2 separate regions of the Homo sapiens genome follow, and region 1 is linked to region 2. The links are contacts of gene promoters, found by promoter capture Hi-C in blood cells and fetal thymus (Javierre and others, 2016). All regions are on one chromosome and are shown on one strand. The core of a region is centred on a gene start or on the middle of the fragment in contact, and the rest is flanking DNA. Distances in the headings are between cores, read along the strand shown.

Region 1 (5,549 bases), core at 2,360-4,859, 220 kb after region 2:
GGCCCCTGGAACCTTCTTTATATTATTTTTCTCAGTCCTTTCTTTATAAAAGAATGAAAAAGTAAAACTCAGCCTGTCCCCTGTATAGATGATGGCAAATTCCCACGATGGAATCAAATAAATGATTGACACCTTTCAACTGTGAGATAGTTATCAAGCACCTATTAAATACAACACATTGTCAGAGACCTTGGCGGGGAAGGTCTGTGCCCTTGGCGGGCACTGCTTGCCCTCCAAAAACCTCTGTTGAATTTAGGGATAAGATACAAAAGCACAAAGAGACAAGTAATCCAGGGACAGTCACCACAGCCTAGCAGCTACTGTGTAAGGCCCAACCACAGTGTTGGATGCTTTACAAATGCTTTGCCTAAGCTTCACCTCAGCCCAACAAGCAGATGTTATTATCCCTGCTTTACAAATGAGAAAACAAGGTGGGACACAATGGCCCATGCCTGTAATCCCAACGCTTTGGGAGGCAGAGGCAGGCAGATTACTTAAACCCAGGAGTTTGAGACCAGCTTGGGCAATATAGTGAGACCTCATCTCTACAAAGAAAAAAATAAAAATAAATAAAATTTTCTCAAAGAGAAAACAAGAGGCTCATGAAATTAAGGAACTGGTCCAAGGGGACACAATTTGTCCTGAACCATGATTCAAAGCCATGTGTGTGGAACATGAAAGCTCATTCCCTTTCACTATTCCACACCAATAAGTGACTCAAGCCAACAATATCAAGCACATCCCAAGGAGGTCCATGTGACTGTCAACTGGGCATCATAACCAGGAGGGCCAGGAGGAGGAGATTGATCAGGGTCCCCAACCCAGACAGGAGTGGCCCGGGGAGACTAGACTCTTGACAGTAACTCCCCCAACCTGGCCCCAGAACGTCCCCTTATTTGCTGTCTTTATTCACATAAGATTGGGTTAGCTTCCTCCTGCTTACAGATTGAAAACTGAGACACACAGAGATGAGTTACCAGGAACCCCGGCCTAGCTGGTGACACAGTTCAGACTGTGTATCCCAGGCTCTGTGTCTGCTCCAGGACATTCTCACTCCTCCAGTGCCCCCATTCCTTTTTTTTTTTTTGAGACGGAGTCTTGCTCTGTCACCCAGGCTGGAGTGCAGTGGCACAATCTCGGCTCACTGCAAGCTCCGCCTCCCGGGTTCACGCCATTCTCCTGCCTCAGCCTCCCAAGTGGCTGGGACTACAGGCGCCCGGCACCACACCCAGCTAATTTTTTGCATTTTTAGTAGAGACGGGGTTTCACCATGTTAGCCAGGATGGTCTCGATCTCCTGACCTCATGATCCGCCCGCCTCGGCCTCCCAAAGTGCTGGGATTATAGGCGTGAGCCACCGCGCCTGGTCCTCCAGTGCCCCCATTCTAATCCTCCTCCTGAGGGCTCACTACAGGGAGAGACTCCCCAGCCTTCCCATGTTTCTTCTAGTTGGCTATGTCAGTGGTCCTAAGTGCAGGCCTCAGGCAGCATCACATCTGCCAGGAACCTGTCAGGGAGGCGAATTTAGGGCCTCCTTGCAGAACCACTGATTCCAGTAGGCCCAGCAATCTGTGCTTAAAACAAGCCCTCCAAGGAATTCCTCACACCAAGGTTTGAGAGCTAGTGAAAAGCATTCTACTCCCCCGAGCTGTGCCCACGTTAATCATAAAATCAAGGCCATTGCGTTAACAAGTTCTCTGCCTCACGCTGCCACCTCATCATGAACAAAAAGAAAAGAAAAAGACAAACAAGAAAGCTCCTGCTGTTCTCTCCTGCGTGCAGCCTGACTCCCACCCGTGCCCACATTCCCCAAGCCCCAATTCCTGCACTGCTGCTTCCCTCCGCGCCTTACCTCTTCCAGTTTAGTCTGTCGACAGGGGAAAGAAAAAGTTAGGCCAAGGGGCAATTTCTTATGCTTTAAATCTTTGGTCTTCATGAAATCTGCCAGACAGTCAGCTACATATTCAAACAGCTGCAGAGAAGAGAAAGCAAAGTACATGGGCTAAGGTGTGGTTTCCCCACACACGGATGCCACCGCCTTCCCTGCGGTCACAGGAGCCACCTGCCAGGTACCTCTGTGCCGTTCCCGCGGATGATTTCATTGGGCGTTGGGTAGAACTGACTCTCCATCTGCACGTGTCGCTTCCCCTCTTCAGCGACTTGCACCTTCAGCACTCGGAACTTGGACCCTCCGAGATCCAGGGAAAGGAACTCCCCATTTTCTATTAAGAAACAAATTCAGTTTCCATTTATTGAGGGTCTACTACAGATATGGCAAGCTCTGCATTAGAGGTTGGACATATAATCAACGTCTTCAAATCACAGCCACTAGGTATCATTATGCTCATTTGCCAAGGCTGAGGACTCTGGCCATTTCTCAGAGCCCTCGAGGTAAGGCGCAGAGCTGAGATGTGAACTAAGTCAGCCTGACTCTGCAGCCTGAGCCCAACCCACTGGCTCATGCTGTAGGAATGTGCATGTCAACTGGAGAGGGCAAATGTGAGCACAGCCCTTGCGGTGGTATGAGAGGTGGCCTCGACGGTGGAGCCCATCCTGGGATGCCATCACTGGGAAGAGAGAGCTGGTGCTCCCAGCCTGGGGAAACTCGGATAAAGGTATGAGGGGGAAGACAGGATGTGCGGCGAGGAGCAGCCAGCCTCCTGCAGCCGATGATCCTATGGGCAGAGGGAAAACACTCCTGGAGGGGAGAGGAGACAGGGACTAAACAATGGCCCTTGAGGTGCCAAGGATGCTGATTTTTTTAGGCCAGAGCCACTCCAAAAGGAGACATTGGAACACAACCCAGCCCAGCCCAAGACAGATGCCATTAATTGAAAGGTGGGGGCTGGGCACAGTGGCTCATGCCTGTAATCCCAGCATTTTGGGAGGCCGAGACGGGCAGATCACCTGAGGTCAGCAGTTCAAGAACAGCCTGGCCAACTTGGTGATGTTGCTGCTGTTGCTGGTCTGTAGACCATAGTTAGAGTAGCAAAGGTGCAGCCAGCTCGATTTTTTGTTTTTGTGTAGACATCCGGAAATTCTTACCTTCACAGATCAGCCACAAAGGAGCTGATGGAGTCATTTATTATTTGGTGAGGGAATTCAGGGAGTTAATCCTATGCAACTTTTATTAGTATATATTATGCACCAAGTAAGAGGGTTCTCCCAGATGCTGTCTTGCTGTGTAGGAGGTAGGGTAGATCCCACAATCTATGTCCACACATTTACTGAGCATCTACTCTGTGCTGAGTAACATGTGTTAGGTGCTAGGGATGCGCAGATGAAAGACGGTGTGCTCCCTGGGAAATTGATCCGAAATACAGGCGCATAAATCAGCTATTTCCATATAGTAGGACCAGTGCTCAGATTGTGAGAGGCACAGGGAGAGATATCCAGGTCAAAGCTGGGAGACAAAGGCAGCTGGCTTTGCAGGGAGGGGACACAGAGCTGAGTGTTGAAGGGTGAGCAGGAGTCAGGCTGCCAGGCTGCCGGGAGCGGGGGTCCCAGGGAGAGGAACCACGGGCAAAGGAATGAGAAAGCATCCGCTAAGAGTGAGTGTGCTTTTGCCAAAGGAGGGCAGCTGTCACAGAAATGAGGTTGGAAGGTGGCTCTCAGGTTAAATTTGGAAGGATTTGGAAAAGCTATCCACCCCAAGGAGCTTGGGCTTTATCTGGAAGGTGAGAGGGAGCTGCAGAAAGATTTTAAGCTAGGGAGTGCCAAGATCTGAGATTCTGGGGACAAATGCCTCTGACACCAACCAGAATAGACTGAGGGTTTAACAAAAGAAGAGGCTGCTGCACTGCCATCGGACGGGAGGGGATGTGCTGAGACCTGGCCAGTGTCGGTGTGGAGGCATCCCACTCCCGGCCCGCATCGCAATCACTATCAAACACCTCACTCCACCAGTGGCTCGAGGTGCCATTTCATGGATGCCACATGGTGTGATCCCTTCTGTCTCTGACCCCAGAAAAAAGGAACCAGTGGACCCTGGGAGAGGGAGGACTTGCCCAGGCAACAGCAGTCTGTGGGGCCTCAGAGTCTTCACAGACATCAAGAAAACAGCCCCGGCCAGGCACGGTGGCTCACACCTGTGGTCCCAGCACTTTGGGAGGCCCAGGCAGGAGAATTAATCCCTTGCCAAGAGTTCAACACCAGCCTGGTCAATATGGTAAAACCCTGTCTCTACAAAACAAAAGACAAAAAAGTCAGTTGGGCGTAGTGGCATGCACCTGTAGTCCCAGCTACTTGGGAGGCTGAAGCAGGAGGATCACTTGAGCCTAGAAGGTCAAGGCTGCAGTGATCTATGATGGCTCCATTGCACTGCAGGTTGGGCAACGGAGGGAGACCTTGTTTCTAAAAAGAAAGAAAAGAGAAAACAGTGTCCTAAGCGGGGTAAATTGCTTTGGCCAATCTGCCTGCTCCAGAGGACCCTCCATGAACTGCCTTGGACCCAATGGTTCCCTTCTCGTAAGTCACTGCTGGTGCTGGTGCCTTCACTCCCTCCTTTTACCCAGTGCAGAGTCTCCCAAAGGTGCACAGTGGCTGAATGCGGAGATTCCTGGAGATTCAGAGTCCCCAGGGGGAGGGGCTGGGAAAGTGTGTATTAGGAAACACTCGAGGCTCCAGGCTGACGACCTCAGGGCTCCCGGGCTCACCCCCAAGGCCTATTTGGCCTTGGAGGCTGACTGGAGGCTAAGGCCTGGAACAGAGCCAGCAGGGGTCAAGCCAAAGAATCACAGTCACCCTCATGCTTCCCATGCCCCTTCCATGACTGGCAGAGAAGGCTCCAGTATTAACACAGCACTTTTAAGGCACTTGATCCTGTCAGAACAGACCACTGCAGCCCCCTGACCAAAAGGCTGGGTGGTAACTAAGGCTCAAACAGGTGACTCCCTCGCAGATAGGTCCTGATGGGAGTAGGCAAACTCAGGACTTCTCTGGAAGCTGCATACATTTCTGAAACGGACACCATAAGGAATTAGGAGAGTTTTGCTTGTTTTTTGTCGGTAATCATGAAATTATACCACCAGCTCACAAGAGCTAGGAGGACTTGGGACAAGATTTTAGAGATGTTAAAGCACGCCATCCACATGATCTCATTAAATCCTGACAATCATGTATGGTGCCGGGATTTACCAAGAACACCTGGCTTATTAGGGACTCTGGGCCCAGGGACCTCGGCACAACAGAATCACTGGTGAGATGCTTTGTGTGGTGAGAGGCTCTGCGGAGACGGGGATGGGGAGCTGGGCGTCTTCCCGGCTAAGGAGGAGAGAGTTTCTATGACTTAGTTAGTTTCACTTCTGAACCTTCAGAAGCAGCCAGGGCCAGGAGGACACCGCCTGTCCCAGAGCCTCCAGACCATCAAAGGCCACCTTCCCTTGCTTCTGGGGACACACCTTGTCTGTATCAGGAGGAGGGGCTGCAGTCCAGGAAGCCAGGCGGACTTAGCCCTGGTGCTCCCCACATGACTCAGCTGCTTCCTCCCAGGGGCCCCAGATGCCCTGTCAAGGACACGTCCCAGTACTCTCGTCAAGCTGTGGCAAGGAC
Region 2 (5,092 bases), core at 251-2,750:
CAGGCAAGGCCCCACCCACAAAGGGGTCACAGGGAAAGCCAGTCCTGATGGCAAATCCAGCAGCTCCTGCTAGCAGAAGAGACCCAGCAAGGGGCTAAGGAGGACACCAGGGGAGAGTGTGTGTATTTGGTGGGAATGGGGTGTCAGTGACCACCCTGGGTCCCTGGGCAAGTCTGCTCTTGTGGCATACTGCAGGCAGAGAGCGATTCTGGAGTGACAGGGGCGGAGCTGGCCTATAGGAAGATATCCTCATCTCTAGAATAGGGCCCAGCCTAATATGAAACGCCCTTACAGAAACCCAATCTCTTGGGGCAGCTTACACCACAGGTGTCCAAATTCCCTGCCCACGATAGTAATAATGTCTCACACTTCTTGAGCTCTTCACTAGGCACCATACCCGGCCTATTTCACGTAATCTCCGCGAGCATCCTACAAGTTGAATATAATTACTGTGTCCATTTACAGATGAGGAAACCATGGCCGAGAGGAATGAAGTAACTTCCCCAAGATCACTCAGCAAGTGCTCATTTCAGAAACGCACAAACTGAAATTGGAACGATACAGAGATTAGCAATGTTTTAAATAAAAAATAAAATATAAAATAAAAGACCACTCGGAGCGACGGAATTCAAAGCTTGGTTCATGTCTAAACACTACCATCCTGCCCCCTAACAAGGCAGAGGAGGAGGTAAAGCCCAGCGACAGCGGAAACTGAGCACCTAGGTGTGCAGGAGACGTCGTCTGGTGGACTTCTCCTCGCCACGCAGGAGGCACGTGCATCCACCAAAGAGGAAACCAAGACGGAGCGGGGAAGCGTCTCGCTCAGGGGCATCAGCAAGTAACTAGCAGGGACCAGACCCGGAATCCAGGTCTCCCAACCCCGACTGCAAATCCTAACTACTTAAGCTCCACAGGCCGATGCAGAGGCAGTCAGTCCTACCGGGTAGGCGTGGTGGGCGCGGCCAGCGCGTTCACCTCAGCCTAGCCAGCCGGCCAGCGGACGCACAGCGGGCAAACCGCCCAGCCGGTGCACACAGGTGAGCCAGGTGGCACTCGGTCGGTCGACAACCGGCTCTCACACTCCCGAAAGGGCGGCTGAAAATTCAGGCTGAGCTCTGGCCGCCCGAATGTGAGGTAGAAAGACAAGGAGTCCGCGCGCGCTCACCCGCGCACTCCCTGGAGCGGCTAAGTGTGGACCCAACCCCGGGCCAGTGAGGGGGCGGCCGGATTGTGGGTCCCCACCCCCATCCCCGGGCCCTACTGGGGTCACTCACCCAGAACACGGTGGAATAGATGATAAGTGAAAACTTGAGCCAGAGGTAGGAGAAGCGCGCGCAGTAGCGCACCTGCTCCGAGTCCCCGCGCGGCATCCTGGGCGCTCCCCGCGCGGGTTACGGGGGCTCCGGGGCTCTCCGGCTCGGTCCCTCAGCCAGCGCTCGTGGCCCCACCTGCGGCTGCCGGGCTACCAGCCCCGCCACCGGCGTTCTCTCCGGGACTGACACTGGAGCGCGGCAATCACAGCCCCAGCCGGGAAGCCTGCCAGCCCTGGCGGCCAATGGGAGGCCGCGGCTGCCTAGCGTCTGGGAGGGGGCGGGCCAGGGGCGGGGCTGCTGCCCTGGGCCCTAGAGGGGACCAAGAAGGGATGGGAGGGGGAGACGGTCTTGCAAATGAGCTCGCGTGCAACTCTGGAAACGCCTGTGCTAATGCAGGGGGCGTGGGAGAGGTGAACCAGAGGTGCTCTAAGGAGAGAGCGAGCGTGCCTAATCGGGGTACATAGAAATGCAAGCTTTCCTCTTGTCAAGAGGGAAAACTTTGGGAAAAGGGCAAGAATTAATCGCCCAGGTGTTGAAAGTGCAAATGAGTGTGCTAAACGTGAATGGAATAAGGAAGTGGAGTTGCTCGGCTCAGGAAGGCTCAGGGAGGCAGACCAGGGTGGGGCTAATAGGCCCCCATGGAGCTGGAGTCTGAAGTTTGCTCGTGAAACAGATCTGCTGAAGGCCTTCACCAAACGACCTCGGAAGTCCCCTTCTTTTGCCAGGTGATAACCCAGCCTTGGGAAGGGTTCCTCCCGGGAAACCCCATCTTCAAACTAGGTTGAAGGCCTGGCGCGGTGACTCACGCCTGTAATCCCAGCACTTTGGGAGGCTGAGGAGGGCGAATGGCTTGAGCCCCAGGAGTTCAAGACCAGCCTGGGCAACATGGCAAAACGCCGACTCTATAATTAAAAAAAATAAAAAGCCAGGCACGGTGGCGCGCCTGTTGTCCCAGCTACTTGGGAGACAGGCGGGAGAATCGCTTGAGTCAGGGAAGTCAAGGCTGCAGTGAGCCGTGATTGTGCCAGTGCACTCCAGCCTGGGAGACAGAGTGAGACCCTCTCTCCAAAACAAAAACAAAAACAAGGCCGGGCACGGTGGCTCACGCCTGTAATACCAACACTTTGGGAGGCCAAGGCGTGCGGATCACTTGAGGTCAGGAGTTCGAGACTAGCCTGGACAACGTGGTGAAACCCTGTCTCTACTAAGAAATACAAAAAAAATTAGCCGGGCAGGGTGGTGCATGCCTGTAGTCCCAGCTACTGGGGAGGCTGAAGCAGGAGAATCGCTTGAACCCGGGAGGCGGAAGTTACAGTGAACCGAGATCCCGCCACTGCACTCCAGCCTGGGTGACAAAGGGAGACTCCATCTCAAAAAAACAAAAAACAAACAAACAGAAACTATAGGTGAGGGAGGCAGCTCCCTCTCTTGCACATAGCCAGCCACTAACCCAGCCTCCTCCCACCTGGCCTTTTCTCAGCCTGGGACCAGAGGTGGCTGTGAGCCTGTCTCTCATGCTAGATGGTCCCAGCTTTACTCACTGTTGTTTCCTGTCTCCCAAGCCTAGCTCAGCCTGGGACTTGGGAGCCAGACAATCCCTGCTGTGGCCTTCAGTAATTAAATCCATGGCAGAGGTCATAAGCTCTAGCAGTGCTGGGTGGGGTCCCTGGTGGTGATTTCAGGAACGACACTCTTATACAAGTCCCCAGTCCTGGGTTCCCAGGGCTCCTGCATACACAAACTCAACAGAGAAGGACAGACTCAGAGACTTAGTCCAGGCTGGCTTTAGCCCCCAGAGCTCTGCCCTAGGAGGAAGAAAGCAAGATTGGGGGGTGGGGAGGGAGGCAGTGCCATGCCTGGAAGGGTAAAAGGAAACCAATTTCCTGGTACAAAACAAACAAACCTTGGGAGGATGTTTGTGTGGGGTAGAGAAATAGAACCAGAGCCAGGCACAGTGGCTCATGCCTGTAATCCCTGCACTTTGGGAGGCCAAGGTGAGAGGTTTGCTTGAGTCCAGGAGTTTCAGACCAGTCTGGGCAACGTAGCAAGACCTCATCTCCACTGAAAATCAAAAAAATTAGCCAAGCATGGTGTCTCGTGCCTGTAGTCCCAGCTACTTGGGAGGGTGAGGTGGGGGTATCACTTCTCGAGCCCAAAAGATCAAGGCTGCAGTGAGCTATGATTGTGCTACGGCACTCCAGCCTGGACAACAAAGCAAGACCCTGTCTCAAAAAAAAAACAACAGGGAAAAGAAAAGGTGGAAAGAGAACCAGAGAGTAATGCAAGCTGCCCTCAAATGATTATCTGAGGGCCAAGAAGGCATCTTACCATAGTGTTAAAAGTTGTCCATTCTGGCCGGGCGCGGTGGCTCACACCTGTAATCCCAACACTTTGGGAGGCCAAGGCAGGGGGATCACTCGAGGTCAGGAGCTCAAGATCAGCCTGGCCAACATGGTGAAACCCTGGCTCTACTAAAAATACAAAAATTAGCCGGGCATGGTGATGGGTGCCTGTAATCCCAGCTACTCGGGAGGCTGAGGCAGGAGAATCACTTGAACCTGGATAGCAGAGGTTGCAATGAGTCAAGATCGTGCCACTGCACTCCAGCCTGGATGACAGAGCGAGACTCGGTCCCCAAAAAAAAAAAAAGTTGTCCTTTCTGTCCTTTGAGGAGGAAGACTAACTTTTTATTCCTCTTTGAGGGCTAGAGCCTCCACCCAGCCCTGCAGAGCTAAGTCCACACCCATTATTTGAGGTGCTAGTCTCTTCCCCACCCATAGAAGCTTGGAACCCTCTTCATACCCTGGAAGGCTAGTTTAGCCTCCTAGTTCCCTTTCATTCTCCATATTTAAACTACAGTCGAAACTGCCACACACCTCCATCAGGTTTCCTTCCCAGTTGCCCCTGGACTTCTATTCTTCCCTTCTGGCCTCTCCAGCCAGCTGCATTTTCTCTCATCTTTCAAATATTCCCTGGTGACACACAAGCTTCTTAGCAAGCCCTCTCAGCTCTCCCTAAGCCCTCGAGGTGAGCCATCCCTACAAAGAGCCTTGGAGCTCTTTGGGGCTGGCACAGCCTTTCCCTGGCTGCTGGGCTTCTTCACTGTGCCTCCCCACCTGCAATCCTGACCCTGACCCCAAGCACTAGGGCTCCTCCTGAACCACATTTGCAAACACTGAGACCTCAGAAGAAATGGCCATCTGTTTCCCACTTTTCCTCCTTTAGCCAGGAACTCTGGCCTAGGGGCCAGCAGGCCTGGTGCAAATCCTGGTTTTGCCATTACTTTTTTGTAGGACTGTTAGAATGTGTGGCATAGTGTGACACACAGGTGTGAATGCAACCCTAGCTGCAGACTAAAAGCACCTGGTAAGCTTTAAATGTATCCTGATATTCAAGCCCCACTGCAGTCAAGTCAAAATCCCCACCAACAGGAACGTGGTAATCAGTATTATTTTTAAACTCCCCAGGTAATTTCTCATTTTTATGTTTATTTTTATTTTTTTGAGAGGCAGTCTTGCTCTGTCACCCAGGCTGGAGTGCAGTGGCGTGATCTTGACTCACTGCAACCTCCGCTATACAGGTTCAAGTGATTCTCCTGCCTCAGCCTACCAAGTAGCTGACATTACAGGCCCCCGCCACCACACCCAGCTAATTTTTGTATTTTAGTAGAGACAAGTTTCACCATGTTGGTCAGGCTGGTCTTGAACTCCTGACCTCAAATCATCAGCCCACCTCCGCCTCCCTAAGTGCTAGGATTACAGACATGAGCCATTGTGTCT

Evidence for each region. The method cuts DNA at HindIII sites, captures the fragments that hold promoters and counts their contacts. A CHiCAGO score of 5 or more calls a contact.
Region 1: a fragment that was not itself captured here is called in contact with the fragment with the promoter of TSPAN15 in region 2 in 1 of 17 cell types (activated CD4 T cells); the score reaches 5.6 in activated CD4 T cells.

Annotation. Positions count from the first base shown.
Region 1 is chr10:69,229,436-69,234,984 of GRCh38, reverse strand. HKDC1 (hexokinase domain containing 1) reads right to left here. Exons shown (of 18, transcript NM_025130.4): 3 at 2,073-2,221; 4 at 1,852-1,971. It overlaps LOC101928994 (a long non-coding RNA gene), which reads left to right and starts at 2,495. Exons shown (of 5, transcript NR_120648.1): 1 at 2,495-2,614. RefSeq lists enhancers at 1,613-2,338, 1,952-3,151, 5,148-5,197, 5,238-5,297. The HindIII fragment of the contact is 6,469 bases long and covers 375-5,549 here.
Region 2 is chr10:69,447,873-69,452,964 of GRCh38, reverse strand. TSPAN15 (tetraspanin 15) reads right to left here and starts at 1,500. Exons shown (of 8, transcript NM_012339.5): 1 at 1,275-1,500. The coding sequence starts at 1,370. RefSeq lists enhancers at 480-980, 1,772-1,911, 1,861-2,478, 2,479-3,097, 4,415-4,916 and a silencer at 1,342-1,651. The HindIII fragment of the contact is 1,152 bases long and covers 637-1,788 here.